Linked DNA regions of Homo sapiens: region 1 is linked to region 2. Evidence: promoter capture Hi-C in human tissues and cell types (Jung and others, 2019). All regions are on one chromosome and are shown on one strand. The core of a region is centred on a gene start or on the middle of the fragment in contact, and the rest is flanking DNA. Distances in the headings are between cores, read along the strand shown. Region 1 overlaps TBCD (tubulin folding cofactor D). Region 2 holds the start of FOXK2 (forkhead box K2).

Region 1 (4,594 bases), core at 561-3,060, 250 kb before region 2:
AAGCTTACCGAGTAAACCACTAACATCAAGACAGCATGAACATGAAAGTGAGTACTAATTAGCAGCTAATTATCTGCATGATATTTACCTCTGCTATTTGGAGAATACGGTCCATTATGGACATTCGTGCTTGCCCAGGCTGGGTGAGGAGGTTCCCGTCAAGGCGAGAAAAATCAAAAGGGATCAGGCAGGTCACGGAGAGCCAGAGCAAAAGCATGTAGCGGGTTTCCCAAGCCTAAAAAATTAAACCACGGGAAGAATGAGTCTTGCTTGAAAATCACAGGCCACTGGCCACAATCTACTCAAAGTCACTGCCCTCCATGCCCACCCAATGCCTATGAAAGCCATTCAAATGCCATCACCCTCAGGGCCAGAAATGCAAGCCGTTCACCAACTCCTCGCCACATCCCCCCCGGAATCCCCACCACACACACCTACCGCCGTAACTTAGCTCAGCAGACAAGAGAGACATCAAAATGAACAAAGAAAAATCATAATACATCAGTATAGCAGCTTCTCTTCGCTGGCACCTCTCCACATACAAACTGGCCTTTTGAAAAAGTGAAAAACAGATAAAAAGTAAAAACACCTAAGAATAAAGAAAAAAGGCCAGGTGTGGTGGTTCACACCTGTAATCCCAACACTTTGGGAGGCCGAGACGAGCGGATCACCTGAGGTCAGGAGTTCCTTTTTTTTTTTTTGAGATGGAGTCTCGCTCTGTTGCCCAGGCTGGAGTGCAGTGGCGCAACCTCGCTCACTGCAAGCTCCACCTTCCGGGTTCACGCCATTCTCCTGCCTCAGCCTTCTGAGTAGCTGGGACTACAGGCGTTTGCCACCATGCTAGGCTAATTTTTGTATTTTTTGTAGACACAGGGTTGCACCGTGTTAGCCAGGATGGTCTCGATCTCCTGACCTCGTGATCCGCCCACCTTGGCCTCCCAAACTGCTGGGATTACAGGCACGAGCCACCGTGCCTGGCCGAGGTCAAGAGTCCTAAACCAGCCTGACCAACATGGAGAAACCCTGTTTCTACTAAAAATACAAAATTACCCTGGCGTGATGACACATGCCTGTAATCCCAGCTACTCAGGAGGCTGACACAGGAGAATCGCTTGAACCTGGGAGACAGAGGTTGCAGTGAGCCAAGATTGTGCCATTGCTCTCCAACCTGGGCAAGAAGAGTGAAACTCTGTCTTTTTAAAAAAAAAAGAATAAAGAAAACAATTATCAACTTCTAATAAAAAAGGAGTACCCTTATTTTCAGTAATTAGTAAAAAACATCCCAATTTGTCCCTGCAATCATTCCACTGGGGGGCGCTAGAAGTACTAGGGAAAGAAGGGCACGGAGTGCAGGGCAGCAGGGAAATGCCCCACAGCGCTCATCAGTCACATCCACGCCGAGACAAGCCACCGCACTGCACGGTTATAAACCGTGTGCTCCTCCAAATACATACCACGCAGAAGACAGCGAGCATAGCAGGCCCCGCTGCCGTCTGAGGCAAGGCCCCTGACGAGGCCGGCCCTGGGCTGGTATCCAGGGACCTGGACACCAGCAGGGTTCCCACCAAGCCCTGCCTGATGAGGTCCCTCGCTGGCTCAATCTGCACAAACCGTGTGCTTTACGCTGGCACCTGCTTTCCTGCTGGGGGTCTGGAATTTCGTTTCGTGCCAGGCAGAGGTGTCCATGTGGCCAGACCCCAGTGAAAGCTCTGGGCACCAAGTCTCAAACGTGCTTCTCTGATAGACACCTCACAGGTGTGGTCACATCTCACTGCTGGGGGAATGACACAGGCCCTGTGGGACCCAACTGGAGGACCCCGGGAGCTCCCGCCTGGTTCTCCCCAGACCCCACCCATGTGCCTTTTCCCTTTGCTGATTTTGCTGTGTATTATTTTGCCATAACAAGTGACAGCCAAAAGGAGGACTCTATGCTGAGTGCTGTGAGTCCCGCTCAGGAAGTATCAAACCTGGGGGTGGTCTTGGGAACCCAACACAGTTATACTTACACAGTTAAAAAAACATAGAAACAATGACGGATTTATTGTTAAACTACACCTAGGCATAATTTTTTTTATAAAGGGGCTATTTTAAACGAAAATAATTTAAAGCAACTTGTACAAGAAGTAAAGGAAAAGTGAAAAGAAAAGAAAGAAAAGAGGAGTGACACAAAACAAAGGGAGATAAAATGAAAGAAACAGGAAGGGGAAGGTGCAGCAGGGTGGGGCAAGCAGGGAGGAAGGACAGGCACGGAGGGCTGGAGACGAGGGGGGAGGCAGAGACACTCACTTCATGGTCCTTGGGATTCTGAATTGTGACCAAATCTAAAACAGGCTCTACATCGGCAACTTCATGAGGAAATAAACGAAGAAATGTTTTATAGCCTCGAACCTATCAAATAAAGAGATGCTGAATTATAACATTTAAAAATACAGAGAGCAGCAAAATTGCCTTTCTACCCTTTCATCAAAAATCACCAGCTACGCGACCCACTGATCAAAGAGAATTCTGTGACATTACAGTGACACAATTTAGTAAGACCGTAGTCACCCCAAGAAAGCTACCCATGGCCAAGAGCGATGGCTCACACCCGTAATCCCAGCACTTTGGGAGGCCGAGGCAAAAGAATAGCTTGAGACCAAGAGTTGGAGACTAGCCTGGGCAACATAAAAAATTAAAAATTAGACAGGATGGTGGCACATGCCTGTAGTCTGAGAGGATGAGGCAGGAGGGAGAATCATTTGAGACCAAGAGTTCGAGGCTGCAGTGAGCTGACTGCATCACTGCACTCTAGCCTGAGTGACAGAGCAAGACCCCATCTCTCAAAAAAAAAGATTTCCTTCCTAAATTGGTAGTGTTATTCATTACCATATTTACGGAATCAGTCATTAAATATGTTCATTTATATGACTGTCCTCTGACATTTATGAGGAATAAGTGCCTACAAACCGCAAGGGCCCAAATTCATTAACACTTCCCTGAAGCTCAGTGATACCACGCCTTCCGGAGAAATCCTAACCTCAAACAGAGGAGCTACAGAGGCCTGCGTGTCCTTGGCAGCTCACCCGCAGTGTCCTCTCGCTGGCCAAGGACTTTCCCGCCAGACAACAGAAATGCGCCTCGCCACTACGAACCCCAAGCCCCACCCTGAGACGGCTGTGAGTACTTCCATAGTCAAAACTGCCAACAGTGAGCCTCTGGGCCAGCACACAGACACCCGCAAGCTTGTAAGAAAAGCAGACTATGAGCACAGACACCCGCAAGCTTGTAAGAAAAGCAGACTATGAGCAGACACCCGCAAGCTTGTAAGAAAAGCAGACTATGAGCACAGACACCCGCAAGCTTGTAAGAAAAGCAGACTATGAGCACAGACACCCGCAAGCTTGTAAGAAAAGCAGACTATGAGCACAGACACCCGCAAGCTTGTAAGAAAAGCAGACTATGAGCACAGACACCCGCAAGCTTGTAAGAAAAGCAGACTATGAGCAGACACCCGCAAGCTTGTAAGAAAAGCAGACTATGAGCACAGACACCCGCAAGCTTGTAAGAAAAGCAGACTATGAGCAGACACCCGCAAGCTTGTAAGAAAAGCAGACTATGAGCAGACACCCGCAAGCTTGTAAGAAAAGCAGACTATGAGCACAGACACCCGCAAGCTTGTAAGAAAAGCAGACTATGAGCACAGACACCCGCAAGCTTGTAAGAAAAGCAGACTATGAGCACAGACACCCGCAAGCTTGTAAGAAAAGCAGACTATGAGCACAGACACCCGCAAGCTTGTAAGAAAAGCAGACTATGAGCACAGACACCCGCAAGCTTGTAAGAAAAGCAGACTATGAGCACAGACACCCGCAAGCTTGTAAGAAAAGCAGACTATGAGCACAGACACCCGCAAGCTTGTAAGAAAAGCAGACTATGAGACCCCCGCCTAGACCTACTTGCTCAAAATCTATAGCACAGCAAAATTCCCAGGAAATTCATCTGCACATTAAAGTGTGAGAAGCACTTCCATTTCCACAGAGTCTCGCTCTGTCACTCAGGCTGGAGTGCAACAGCATGATCTCGGCTCACTGCAACCTCTGCCTCTCAGGTTCAAGCCATTCTCCCGCCTCAGCCTCCCAAGCAGCTGGGATTACAGTCATGTGCCACCAAGCCCAGCTAATTTTTGTATTTTTAGTAGAGACGGGGTTTCACCATGTTGGCCAGGCTCATCTCGAACTCCTGACCACAGGTGATCCACCTGCCTCAGCCTCCCAAAGTGCTGGGATTACAGGCATGAGCCACCGCACCCGGCCTGCTTTCTCCTTGTAAGAAGTTTTTCTGATTTAGTCTCATCTCCACCCCATTCCCTTCCTAGCTACACAGTGCTTCAATCTATTCAAATGCAAGATGCTGAATATCCTGACACTGTTTCAGCCAAAGAGCCCACATCACTAAATTCTGATCCCCAACATACAGTAAAAAGGGACAGAATTAAACCCACAACTTGTGTCTAAGAACTATCTTTCTTGAGAAATAACATTTTGGAGGGTAACCTCTGGACCAAGTATATTACAAAAGTATCTGTCAACTCTGAAGTGCTATGGAAATGTTACCT
Region 2 (4,336 bases), core at 579-3,078:
CACACACACAACACGCAAGTCAAGAAGAAAAGCAACAGCTCTTACCAGCATCTCCAACAACCGAAAGCGTTAAAAATTCCAATTTGTAGGCCGGGCGCGGTGGCTCACGCCTGTAATCCCAGCACTTTGGGAGGCCGAGGCGGGTGGATCACGAGGTCAGGAGTTCAATACCAGCCTGGCCAAGATGGTGAAACCCCGTCTCTACTAAAAATACAAAAAATTAGCCGGGCGCGGTGGCAGGCGCCTGTAATCCCAGCTACTCGGGAGGCTGGGGCAGGAGAACCACTTGAACTCAAAGGGCGGAGATTGCAGTGAGCCAAGATCGCGCCACTACACTCCAGCCTGAGCGACAAAGTGAGCCTCCGTCTCAAAAAACAAAAAACAAAAAAATTCCAGTTTGTGTGGACAAAGGCTGTACTTGCAATGATCTAGAAGTGAGCCCCTGAGGAATAATTAGCATTTCCTAGACAGCAAGTTTGTGTTTCAAGCAGAGTAAACGATAACTTCATAAAACCACAGGACCAAGCTAAATTGTTTTGTAGCAGGATAGGCAGTTCCCTATCAGGCTGACTTAACACTCTACATGACCTTGTAATAATTCCTAATCAACTGTCTTTTTGTAGAAGTTATGCGAAAAGCATCTAGTTTTCCCTAAATTTTAAGGTTCAGAGCACAGATTGAAAATCCATCATGCTTGAAGCGTCTTCCAATTTGGCCTACTGAAAACACGGCAGGGAAAAAGGAGTCCTTCCTGCTTAAAACACCGCACTCTTGAAACAGCTCACTACTGAAAACGACTGAACAACAACAACAACAAAAGACAACAGACAACCCTTCATCGGTTAAGAGACATAGATTTTAGTTCGGGGCAGTTCCTCCCACCGCACACCGTTTTCACATTTCTGTTCAGCGCGACCTCGCTGCAGAATAGAAACAGCACACGTGAACTCCCCGCACGCACAGAACCCAGAAACCTTGACCCGCGCGCGCAGCCGCCCGCAGCCCCGGCTCCAGGAAGGGGGAAAGACGGGGGGCTGCACCTGCCAGGAAGGGGACCGGGAGGACGGGGGTCGGGGCCAGGGGCTGTCGAGGGTTGGGATCCAGCCGGGGCCTGGGTCCCGCTGGTGGTCCCGGCTGTGGGAGAGTCGGGCCCCCGCTCGTGGGTGGTCCCGGGCCTGGGCGCGTGTCCCGTCCCGTCCTGCCAGGCGCTGCAGGCCGCAGACCCCGCCCGCCCCGCCCCGAGGCCACTCACACGCGCGGCAGCTGCAGCGGCGGCGCCCCGCGCCTCTGGAACACGCCGTCCACGAATACCCCGTTCTTGCCCAAGCAGCGCAGGTAGAAGTCGCCGCCGGCGTCGGGCCTGGGCTGCGCGGGCGGCAGCTCCGGAGCGGCCCCGCCATGGCCGCCGCCGCCCGGGGGCGTGAAGATCTCGAGGTGGCGCCGGGAGATGAAGCTCGAGTGGCCCATGCTCACGTCCACCGAGCCCTGCGACGAGTTGCGGCCGATGGTCACCGAGCGCTTCTTCATCAGATACTCGAACTCGCGGCCCTCCAGGCGCGCCACGGCCCAGCCGCCCGGCGGGGACCCGCCGCCCCCGGCCCCGCCGCCCCCGGCCCCGCCGCCCGCGGGTGGCGTGCCCGCGCCCGAGAGCGCCGCCGCGGCCGCCGCCATGGGCCTGCGTGAGGGCCCCCGGGCCGCTCCGCGCGGGCGCCGGTGGCGCGGGCCGAGGCCCAGGCCGCGCGGGTCGTCGGCCGCCGCGCACCGGAGCTGAGGGAGGGGGCCGAGCGGAGGCCGCCGGCCGGCGAGCGAGCGAGCGGCGGCGAGGGGCGGGAGCACGCGCGGCCGCGCCACCGAGCCGGCACGCCGGGCCCGCCCCTCGCTGACGGACGGTTACGCCGGCCAATGGGGGCGGCGTACGGCAGTGGGGCTACCGAAGCAGGCCAATGGCAAGACACGTCGCACCAAGCTGCCGGCACGTCCGGCGGCGACGCCCGACGCAGTCCCGACTCCGGGCGCCGCGGAAAACCCGGGGCGGACAGTCGGCAGCCCGCGCGGGATCGGGGCTGGCGCGGGGTTGGCGCGGGCGCGGGAGCTCGGGGGTCTGAGCCCGGCCTGGCAGCGCCTTAGGCGCGGCGGGCGGGACCAGGCCCAAGGTCACAGCGGGCGCCAGGCACGCAGCGGCCCCCAACCCGGCGTGGACGCCGGGGTGCGGATAGGCGGCGGCCCGCGAGCCCAGGCCCGGCCGCCGAGCGGCCTTTTCCCCGCGAGGTGCGGGAATATCGCGGAGGGGCCGCGTGCCGCGTGGCCTCAGACCCAGGGGACCCGGTGACACGTTCGTTTTTAACCAGCAGCTCCAGGACTGGATGTCGTTATCTTTCCTGGCTAGCGAGTCATGTCATTGTGTCAAAACTGTCCTGCAAAATACGCAGAAGTTCTGAATCACATTTACTTAACTGTCGTCAGCACACAGTTTAAAAATATACACGAGGCCGGGCGCGGTGGCTCACGCCTGTAAGCCCAGCACTTTGGGAGGCCGAGGCGAGCGGATCACCTGAGGTCAGGAGTTCGAGACCAGCCTAGCCAACATGGTGAAATCCCAGCTCTACTAAAAATACAAAAAAAAAAAAAAAAATAGCCGGGTGTGGTGGTGCACACCTGTAGTCCTAGCTACTCAGGAGGCTGAGGCAGGAGAATTGCTTAAACCTGGGAGGCGGAGGCAGGAGAATTGCTTCAACCTGGGAGGTGGAGGTTGCAGTAAGCCGAGATCGCGTCACTGCACTTCAGTCTGGGCAACAAGAGTGAAACTACGTCTCATATGTATATATATGAACTATATATATGTGAACTATATATATATATATGAACTATATATATATGAACTATATATATATGAACTATATATATGAACTATATACATATATGAACTATATATATATGAACTATATATATATGAACTCTCATGAACGAATAGTTAATATCTTAACCAATCTGATACTAAGTTTTTAAAAAAAGAATTTCGCCACCGTTTAAAAAATTACAAGATCCCATCTAAATCAAGATGATCAATAGTCCAGATGTTCACTAATCAATGAAACTCCTAACATTAAAAAGAAAAAATCCTGTGGCCGGGCGCGGTGGCTCACACCTGTAATCCCAGTGCTTTGGGAAGCCGAGGCGGGTGGATCACAAGGTCAGGAGTTCAAGACCAGCCTGCCCAACATAGTAAAAGCCCGTCTCTACTAAAAATACAAAAATTAGCCAGGCATGGTGGGGCGTGCCTGCAGTCCCAGCTACTTGGGAGGCTGAGGCAGTAGAATCGCTCGAACCTGGGAGGCGGAGGTTGTGGTGAGCAGACATCACGCCACTGCCCTCCAGCCTGGGTGACAGAGGAGACTCCGTCTCAAAAAAAAAAAAAAAAAAAAAAATTGGGAAAAGAAAGAAAAAATCCTGTAAATGTATCTCACGGGTACTTAACCAGTTGTGGAGACGTTCAAGGTTCAGGATCATGAAAAGTCTACAACCTCTTAAACAGGAAGAATTCCGTGGGAAGTCAGTGTCAGCCCTAGAAACCATGGCTTGGGCTCCAAGCGCGCATCTTCGCAAAACTGAAATAGCAACAAATGGTACCAATTTAGTCTCTGCTGGGGAGGGACTGCCCCCTGAATTGTCTCACTTCTTTCAGCATGGTGGTTCCTGCAGGGTGTGTGAGGAGAAGATCCTATTATAGCCTATATATACAGGTTATAGCAAACACCCCAGGGTTCCTCTATTTGCTGCTTGTTAAATAGCAAAGAACAATTAGAAGAGAGAAATGATATAATTTAGGTACAGAGGCCTGGCACGGTGGCTCATGACTGAATCCCAACACTTTGGGAGGCCGAGGTGGGTGGATCACTTGAGGTTAGAAGTTGGAGACCAGCCTGGCCAACATGGTGAATCCACATATCTACTAAAAATACAAATATTAGCTGGGTGTGGTGGCACGTGCCTATAATCCCAGCTACTTGAGAGGCTGAGGCAGGAGAATCGCTTAAACGCGGGAGGCGGAAATTGCAGTAAGCAAGCGGAGATTGCACCACTGCATTCCAGCCTGGGTGACAAAGCCAGACTCTGTCTCGAAAATAATCATCATCATCATAATGTAGGTACAAAAGGAGTTTAGTGTGAGTAGAAAGACTTGAGACTGGACTTAAACGGAGCAGGATAAAGTGGAGATCCTGAACAGGAACCACCAACTGGGGGCCCCAGGCAGGAGACATCAGGGTCAGTTCATGCATTTTTATTCCTTCAATGTGTAAAAACTTTTTCTAAAAGAAATGGAAATTAATGTGTCCCT

The links. The method cuts DNA at HindIII sites, captures the fragments that hold promoters and counts their contacts. A contact is called where the count stands out against the background at its distance.
Region 1: a fragment that was not itself captured here is called in contact with the fragment with the promoter of FOXK2 in region 2 in 2 of the 25 tissues and cell types used here (dorsolateral prefrontal cortex and lymphoblastoid cells).

What each region holds. Positions count from the first base shown.
Region 1 is chr17:82,764,061-82,768,654 of GRCh38, reverse strand. TBCD (tubulin folding cofactor D) reads right to left here. Exons shown (of 39, transcript NM_005993.5): 3 at 4,593-4,594; 4 at 2,287-2,388; 5 at 89-235. Among named protein-coding and RNA genes, the nearest start is that of TBCD, 14 kb to the right of the region's middle. The HindIII fragment of the contact is 4,126 bases long and covers 1-3,873 here.
Region 2 is chr17:82,517,224-82,521,559 of GRCh38, reverse strand. FOXK2 (forkhead box K2) reads right to left here and starts at 1,828. Exons shown (of 9, transcript NM_004514.4): 1 at 1,253-1,828. The coding sequence starts at 1,671. RefSeq lists silencers at 989-1,038, 1,119-1,298, 1,749-2,408. The HindIII fragment of the contact is 19,651 bases long and covers 1-4,336 here.